2 separate regions of the Homo sapiens genome follow, and region 1 is linked to region 2. The links are contacts of gene promoters, found by promoter capture Hi-C in blood cells and fetal thymus (Javierre and others, 2016). All regions are on one chromosome and are shown on one strand. Each heading gives the region's core, a stretch centred on a gene start or on the middle of the fragment in contact. The rest is flanking DNA. Distances are from core to core; before and after follow the strand shown.

Region 1 (4,155 bases), core at 43-2,542, 52 kb before region 2:
AGGATTAGACTAATGAAAGATTACAAAAAATATAACCAGTAAAAACTATCTTTCTCAAGACTATGTGTTGATAGATGTTAATGCTGGGTGATGTGTACATAGGGATTTATTATTCTCTTTATTTCCATATATTTAAATATTTCCATGGTTTAATAAAAACTTTCCTTCTGAATACTCAGTTTCTCACAAGACTGTCATATTAATTTTAAAAACATATGTCCAAATTAATGTGAAAAAGGAAAGTTAATTTCTTTCCAGACATATCACCTAGATCAGGTCTACACAAAAAGCAAGATCTCATCTTTCAACTTTGATAATGTAAGGTGAGTAAAATTGTAAGTGTCCAATATCAAATTTGGCAATAACATTCTTAGACAAATAAGCAATCTGATTTATTAGTAGAAGCAACCAAACCTTGCAATCACATCATCTGCTAACAGTTTTGATTTCTGGAACTGTGACTAGACTTCAAGATAATACGTTTCAAGCCAAAGTTTGGGCTAGAGAAGATTTATTAATCTGTATTAAAAATTTACCTAGCTGACAAAAAATAATCAGATGGCTAAAAGTTTTATCGACTTATCACGCAATAACAAGCCCCCTCCTTCCTCTAAATCCTAACAACCCTCTTATCTATACAACATTTCTTCAAAATCTCTACTTCTAAAAAATAATAATTTGCAACAAGACAAAGCAATTATCTTCTGTGGGCATCTGCATATTGTCACAATAGCTAGTTAATTAATACTGGTCAATTAAAAACACACACCAGGCTGGGCACAGTGGCTCACGCCTGTAATCACAGCACTTTGTGAGACTGAGGTGGGCTCGGCCGGATCACGAGGTCAGGAGATCGAGATCATCCTGGCTAACACAGTGAAACCCCATCTCTACTAAAAATACAAAAAATTCCCCTGGCATGGTGGTGGGTGCCTGTAGTCCCAGCTAGTCGGGAGGCTGAGGCAGGAGAATGGCGTGAACCCAGGAGGCGGAGCTTGCAGTGAGCCGAGATCACGCCACTGCACTCCAGCCGGGGCGAGAGAGCAAGACTCCATCTCAAAAAAGAAAAAAAAGAAAAAAAACCACACACCTGCTCCTGAAACATTTTTAACAGTGAAAAGTGTGGTGTGGCAAGCTTCCTCCATCACATCTACACATACATATATACACACATACATACACATGCTGACACACATCTATTGTAGAAATGCTTGTATTTAAGTGAGCTGAACTGTTATTCAAACGGCTACAAGGCAAATTTAGAATACTCATTAAAATATTATCAGGTTCCCATCATTCACAAATATCTAAGAGACATACTATAATATGCCAAATTCACATGTATACCTATGTAACAAACCTGCACGTTGTGCACATGTACCCTAGAACTTAAATTTAAAAAAAAAATGCCAAATTAATGTGCCCATGACACCGCTAAAGATTACGGAAGAAGCTTTTTCAGAGAGCACATCTAAAAAAATTCAGCCATGTCTCAGATTTATATATTCTCCTAACTCTTAATAAAAAAAATTTTCCCAACTCTTAGATTGCCTTTTAAACCACTCAATCCCTTGTAAGATTGAGCAGTTCACCTCTGATTATTCTGAAAAAGGCATTTTTTTCCCTAAAAAAGCAAGTCTCACTAACTGCAGAATGCACTATTTAAAAAACACCAATTTTTACTTTTCTGAACAGATCAACTAACTTTGGAGGGGGCCTTCTAAGGTAACAGGTCTAAACTGGACTCTTTTAGGCAGCCTCTAGAAATATCATACACTGGTTGCACAAACCTCAGGAAATGGGATTTCAATTCAACATGAGGAGCTTTTAAATCTCAGCGCTTTCCAACAATGGAATAGCTACCTCCAGAGTAGTGAGTTTCCCATTACCACGAACAGTCAAGGACAGTTGGACACAGAGGCAGAATGTGATAAATGAAAATACTTTGGAGGTTGGCCAGATGTTTTACTGATTCAGCCACTTCCTATGTGATTATGGGCATGTCCAACTAACTTTTAAGCTTCAGTTTTATCATCTGTAAAATGGAAGCCATCATCCAACTTGAAGGGTGAAACTCAGAAATATAGCAGGGACATGCTTAGCACAGTGTACAGTCTAGCGGGTAAAAACTCAAATGGTACTTTTTGTTAGTTTTACTACTATGAACACCTGGCAGTAAAGATTTCTGTGACACTAAGGGTGGAATGGACATGACCACTAACATCTCTTTTGACCCTATCATCTTATCACTAAGTTTCTCTTCAAAATACCTGGAAGAAAAACTCAAGGGCTCAAACTTACTAGGGGTTTAATTTTATAAAGAAGAGCACCTGTTTATTGGAGGCTCTAGTTTCCCAGTAGGTGCCTTATTCTACCCACATTCCCTGCTGTTTGGCCCCCTTACCCTACGTCCCTACCCCAGAGTTAACATTCAACTTGCCCTCTTGCCTTCAGTATCAATAATCACAAAGTGGGTCATGCAACAAAAAGACTCCTAAATTGGAAAATGAGAGCCTGGGTTTGGTCTCAGGTTCTGCCATTAACTCCCTATGTTACCTAGGCAACTCACATATTTATATTGGTTTTAAAGAAAAAGTACCACTGGTAAACATTATCTCATTTCATCTTCATAACCTCATGGAAGGTATCAGTAATGCCGCCCTTAACTAACATTAATGAGGAAATTTACGGCTCAAGAAGTGGAGTGGCCTTCCCAGAATGGCACAGGAAGTAGCAGGCTCAATATTTTGCCCAGTACCCATTCTCCCAAAACCTATACTCAGAGGTATTAGAGACAGGACCTTCTGGAAAACAGTGTAAATGTGTTTTCCCCTCCTCCTCTATCAGAACCTGGCCTAGTCAAGAGTGAAAGCAACATAATTGTTAGTGGTAGAGGGAAGGAGGCTTCATTTCCCCCTTTTCTTATCAAACAAAGAGCACAGAGGCGCTGAAAATGTATACACACCTATAAACTTACATATGCATAAAATGTATTCTGAATATTCAAGAAACTGATAACCCTGGTTGCCTCCAGAGAGAACTGGAGAGCTGCAGAATAGGAATGAGGGGTCCCTTTTTATTGTATACCTTTTAAAACTGAAAACCATGTTAAGTATAATATACTATCAAAAAATAGCCTTTAGTTTTAAGGTGAATTTTTTTAAAGCTTTGAAAGAATACAAATAATGTTTATAAAATATGTGTTCTGCAACTCCACTTGTTGCTGGGTGACCTTGGGCAAATCACTTCACCTGTCTCATGCCCTGTTTCCTCACTTGTAAAATACAGCCAAGAGCATTACCTACAAGGGTTTTTATGAGGGTTAAACAAGACAGTGCAAGTAAAGCGTTTAGCACAGTACTCGGCACGCTGTAAGCCTACAGTAAATGTCAGTTACCATTATTACTTAGCATTAATATTGTTATCTTTGCTTTACTTCAAGCAGCACCCCACATACACACCTGTTTTCATGGCATACCCACAATTATGGCGCAGTATAGCGCTTTGTACTTCATAAACCACCTCATCACACTTCATCGTCTTTCAAACGTTTGGTAGCCCTGGGACATCACTGTTAACTCATTTCGCAGCTAAGGAAATGGAGGCAGTAGGAGGCAGTAACTCCAAAACCCTGTTTTCCCGTCTCTAAAATCCAGATCCCATCAACCCATTCGTTGCTCCCAGGTCCCTTGCTCTCGGAATCGTGTTCCGCGCGGCACTGACCTGAGCGAGCGCCCCGGGGCCCGGGACCTCGCGCCGGGTTCACAGCTACTAGGCACGCTCGGACCGCCAGAGCCTTGCAGCGGCCGGGTCCGCTCCGCAGCCATGGCGCCTGCAGGGAAAGAAAAACAGCCAAGGCGCGGCGGGTCAGCAGAGCCGCGGGCGCCTAAGAGTCCCCTCCCCGACCGGCCCCGCCTCGCATACAGACCCGGACCTGCGGCCGCTGCTCCCGGTCCGCAGCCTCACAGGGGAGCGGCTTCCGGTGCTGCCTGCGTCATCTCCGCGCGTCCCTCAGCTCCGCGGCTCCCGGCGGAAGCGGCTGCACTTCCGGTCCCCGCCCGGAGGTGGGTGGTGGGAGGCTGGAGGCCGGGAGTAGGGGTGGGGAGAAGAGCGTCCCGGGAAGCTGAACGCGTGCCGCGCGGCCCTCACGGTGCT
Region 2 (4,383 bases), core at 1,625-4,124:
AACCTGGGAGGCGAGGTTACAGTGAGCTTACATCCTGCCACTGCACTCCAGCCTGGGCAACAGAACGAGAACCCGTCTCAAAAAAAAAAAAAAAAAAAAAAGGGCCTCACTCTGTCACCCAGGCTGGAGTGCAGTGGTGCAATCTTGGCTCACTGCAACCTCTGCCTCCTGGGCTCAAGGGATCCTCCCCCTCAGCCCTCTAAGTAGCTGGGACTATAGGCACGCACGCCCAGTTAATTTTTTGTTTTGTTTTGTAGAGACAGGGTTTCACCATGTTGCTCAGGCTGGTCTCAAACTCCAAAGCTCAAGCGATCCACCCGCCTCAGCCTCCCAAAGTGTTAGGATTACACGTGTGAGCCACTGCTCCCGGTCTACAAAGTGTTTTTATTATTATTATTATATTATTATTATTATCTTGAGATGGAGTCTCACTGTGTTGCCAGGCTGGAGTGCAGTGGTGCAATCTTGGCTCACTGCAACCTCCACCTCTCAGGTTCAAGTGATTGTCCTGCCTCAGCCTCCCAACTAGCTGGGACTACAGGTGTGCGCTACCAAGCCCAGCTAATTTTTGCTTTTTTTTTTTTTTTTTTGAGACGGAATCTCACTCTGTTGCCCAGGCTGAAGTGCAGTGGAGCGATCTCGTCTCACCGCAACCTCTGCCTCCCAGGTTCAAGAGATTCTCCTGCCTCAGCCTCCAGAGTAGCTGGGACTACAGGCACGTGCCACCATGCCCGGCTAATTTTTGTATTTTTAGTAGAGACAGGGTTTCACTATGTTGGCCGGGTTGGTCTCGAACTCTTGACCTTGTGATCCACCCGCCTCGGCCTCCCAAAGTGCTGGGATTACAGGCGTGAGCCACCGTGCCTGGCCTAACTTTTGTATTTTTAGTAGAGACGGAGTTTCACCATGTTGGCCAGGATGGTCTCGATCTCTTGACCTGGTGATCTGCCCGCCTCAGCCTCCCAAAGTGTTGGGAATACAGGCGTGAGCCACTGCACCGGGCCTACAAAGTGTTTTTAATCAAACACTACGGATGTGTAAAAAATCAAAAATAAAAGTTGTCCTACTATTTTCAGACCCACTTCCCTATTAATAGTTTCTGGTGTACCTTTGCAGATATTTGCAATGTTATACAAGTTTTACATGCCTGTGGGGGTTGGGAAGATTGTAATCCTTTTTAAAAATTACAGGTTAAAATTATAGATTGATATACCCTGCGATTTTCTTTTTCATTCAACAACACAGAGATTGGCCGGGCGCAGTGGCTCACGCCTGTAATCCCAGCACTTTGGGAGGCCGAGGCGGGCGGATCACGAGGTCCGTAGATCGAGACCATCCTGGCTAACATGGTGAAACCCCGTCTCTACTAAAAATACAAAAAATTAGCCGGGCGTGGTGGCGGGCGCCTGTAGTCCCAGGTACTCGGCAGGCTGAGGCAGGAGAATGGCGTGAATCAGGGAGGCGGAGGTTGCAGTGAGCCGAGATCGCGCCACTGCACTCCAACCTGGGAGACAGAGCGAGACTCGTCTGAAAACAAACAAACAAACAAAACAAAACAAAACAAAACACAGAGATCTTTCCATGTCCACATACATATATATACATCTACCTCAATAACTTAAATAACTGCACAGTGTTACAGAGTAATAGCGCATAATTTGGAATCCTCTGTTAACGGATATTTAGATTGTTTCTAGTGTTCTGGTGCCACACACGATATGTTATATTCTTGCATATAATGTTGTAGGGTCCTCCAGTCGCCCCCTTTCTTTCTCTGTCCTGATGGAAAATCAGAGTGCCTTGATTGCTCTCTGACCTAGCCAGCGGCAGGTTTCCCTAGCAGGCTTGACCATAAACCAGGGGCCTTGAACATTCACAGGCCTGATAAAGGTACCTAGGTTGTTGCCCAAAACACTGGAAGAAACTGGCCTCAACCCTGAGCCAAATTCCTTTAAACTCTCATCTGAACTCCATACCCTGACCCCCTCACTGCGGACATACCCAGGAACACCTTTCTCCCGGTGTCCGTCTTGACAATTTCTGCAGCCCTCTGCAGGTTTCCCCCTAAACGCTTTTGGACTGATCGCCTTGGCATTCAGTGCTTCTTTTTCTGTCATCCCAACCAGCCACATCTCGGGAAGGTTTGAAGCACTCCCTCGTGGGAACTCTCTTGCCGCTGCTTTTGGGGCGATTCCAGCCTCGGGTTCGAAAGAACAAAGTAACTGCACATTTTGTGCGCGTATACTTGCATTAAATTTTTTTAACAAGAATGACTGGATGAAAAAGCATGTGAATTTAAAATGCTGATGGTTCTTGCCACATTGCCAGGATAGGATCCTTTTAGAAGGGGAAACAAATCAAGAACCTGTACAAAGAGATGTGGAATGCTCCTTGTAAGTGGACAGCTTTGCTTTCCTCCTTTAATTTCTATTTGATGAAGAAGGCAGTGCCTCACTGCTCAGAGGCAGCGAGGCCAGGCGACGGGAGAAAACACCCTGGGGCACTCTCAGAGGCTGAACCTGAACCCCATCTCCTGCCTCTGAACCCAGGATCCTTCCTTCTCTGCAAATTTCGGCTACTTTCCACCTCCCCTGTGACTGGGAAAAGCGCTGTTCTTGCCCTCAACCACTCTCATGTCCATATTTAGGGGTGCCCCTCTCCTCGGCTCAAGCCCCCGGGGTCCTCTCACCTATGGTTCTCGTTAAGCAGGGAGAAGAGCGGGCCGAGGCGCAGCTCCGCCGCTTGCTGGCGAAGCTCGTTGAGCGGCACTGCCTGCAGCACGGAGTGAAGCGCGCGTAGCTCCTCCAGCGGCGCTTCCAGCCTCGCTACCTCTCTCAGCAGCGCCAAAGCCTGGGCTGCCATCTTGCCCCCCGACGCAGGGGCTGGCCCAGCGGCCCAGTTCCCGGGGCGCTTTCCTGAACCTCGCGAGATCTGATCACAGCCTCCTTGTCCCTGAGATGGCTATGGGGCTGCCAAGCCTCGCGAGAAGCCTCCGTTAGGGCCGTGTCAACTGTAGCCAGTGGTTGCGGCTCCCTCAGTCTGGCGTCATCTAGGTCGCTGCTCAGGGAAATGCGGAGGCCAGTAGGCTTACGTGTTTACCGCGTAGGGCAAAGCCTTGCCAAATTCCCGGCCAGCGGAGCGGCGAGGGTGGGGACTCACGGGAAGTTAAACAGCCTCGTCGGCGTCCTCGAGGCTCCAAAACCAGGCTCTAGGCGGGGACGACTGCAGCCGTTATGGAGGCCACCGCGGCTACGGCCGCGGCTGAGGCCTCCCCAGGTGGAGCGGTGGCCTGGAGGGGAATCTTGATCCTGGGCCAGCCACCTGTCAAGAGGAGGCGGAGCGTCATGCCTCTGGAAGACTGGATGAATATTCTCCAGGAGCCTGACGAAGGCGTGAGTAATAGGGACGTGCGCCGCCTTGTTGGTGTTGATCAGTCCACCAAGGAGAAGCAGCTGGTCGCAGTGGCCGTACCTGTAATCCCAGCGCTTTGGGAGGCCGCGGCGGGAGGATCGCTTGAGCCCGGGAGTTCGAGACCAGCCTGGGCAACATAGTGAGAAACCCGTCTCTACCAAAAAGAAAAAAAAAAAAAAAGGAAAAAAATTAGTGCGGTGTGGTGGCACGCACCTGTAGTCCCAGCTACTCGGGAGGCTGAAGCGGGAGGGTCCCCTAAGTCTAGGAGGTCGAGGCTTCAGTGAGCGGTGATTGTGCCACTGCACTCCAGCCTGGGCGACAGAGCAAGACCCTGCTTTCCCCTCTTGTCCTCCACTACCCTCAGGAAACCAAGAAAGACCAGCGTGGAGAGTTGGTCGCCCATCTGCTCTAAGCTGCTGTGTATTCCCCTGTAATGTAAACATCGTGAAGGTGGAGACCCAGTTAACCTTTTAGGTGGAAGGCCAGATGACAGAGGGCGGCATCTGACCCGGAAGGCCCTCTGCAACCAGGCCAAATACATCTACAGGGAACCAATGGGAAACATCTGGGGAGGACAACCCAAATAAGTATCATGCGAGCAAGGGATGGTTTGAGAACTTTAAAAATCGCTGCTGTTTTGCAACATACGAAGTTGATGGGGAGGAAGGACCCTTAAATCCTGAGTGGGTATCGAGTATTCCAAGCAACTGGAGAGAGGCTTTGTGCCTCAACAGGTCTTCAACGCCAAGGAGATGACCCATCTTTTGCAGTGCATGCCTTCCTACTTTTGGGGCAAAAGACAAAAATCTGGAAAGCTTAGAGGAAGCTAAGGACAGGATTTCCCTCATTTTTTTGTGGCAGTGCCTCAGGTGACAAAATGATAAAACCACTGCTGCTTTACAAAGACTCTAACACCCCACTTGTCTTTTAGAGATAAACGCCTTCCTGTTTTCTTGTAATCACACCCAGAAT

Evidence for each region. The method cuts DNA at HindIII sites, captures the fragments that hold promoters and counts their contacts. A CHiCAGO score of 5 or more calls a contact.
Region 1: a contact is called between a fragment that was not itself captured here and the fragment with the promoter of PSMD5 in region 2, in 6 of 17 cell types (naive CD8 T cells, naive CD4 T cells, non-activated CD4 T cells and 3 more). The highest score is 10.4, in naive CD8 T cells.

Annotation. Positions count from the first base shown.
Region 1 is chr9:120,789,426-120,793,580 of GRCh38, forward strand. It overlaps FBXW2 (F-box and WD repeat domain containing 2), which reads right to left and starts at 3,991. Exons shown (of 8, transcript NM_012164.4): 1 at 3,929-3,991; 2 at 3,724-3,832. B3GALT9 (beta-1,3-galactosyltransferase 9) reads left to right here and starts at 4,042. Exons shown (of 3, transcript NM_001386823.1): 1 at 4,042-4,155. RefSeq lists an enhancer at 3,692-4,155. The HindIII fragment of the contact is 318 bases long and covers 1,134-1,451 here.
Region 2 is chr9:120,840,048-120,844,430 of GRCh38, forward strand. It overlaps PSMD5 (proteasome 26S subunit, non-ATPase 5), which reads right to left and starts at 2,875. Exons shown (of 10, transcript NM_005047.4): 1 at 2,690-2,875. The coding sequence starts at 2,862. It also overlaps the pseudogene CUTALP. RefSeq lists enhancers at 2,496-3,025, 2,597-2,896, 2,784-3,078, 2,844-3,138, 3,097-3,446 and 1 more. The HindIII fragment of the contact is 10,742 bases long and covers 1-4,224 here.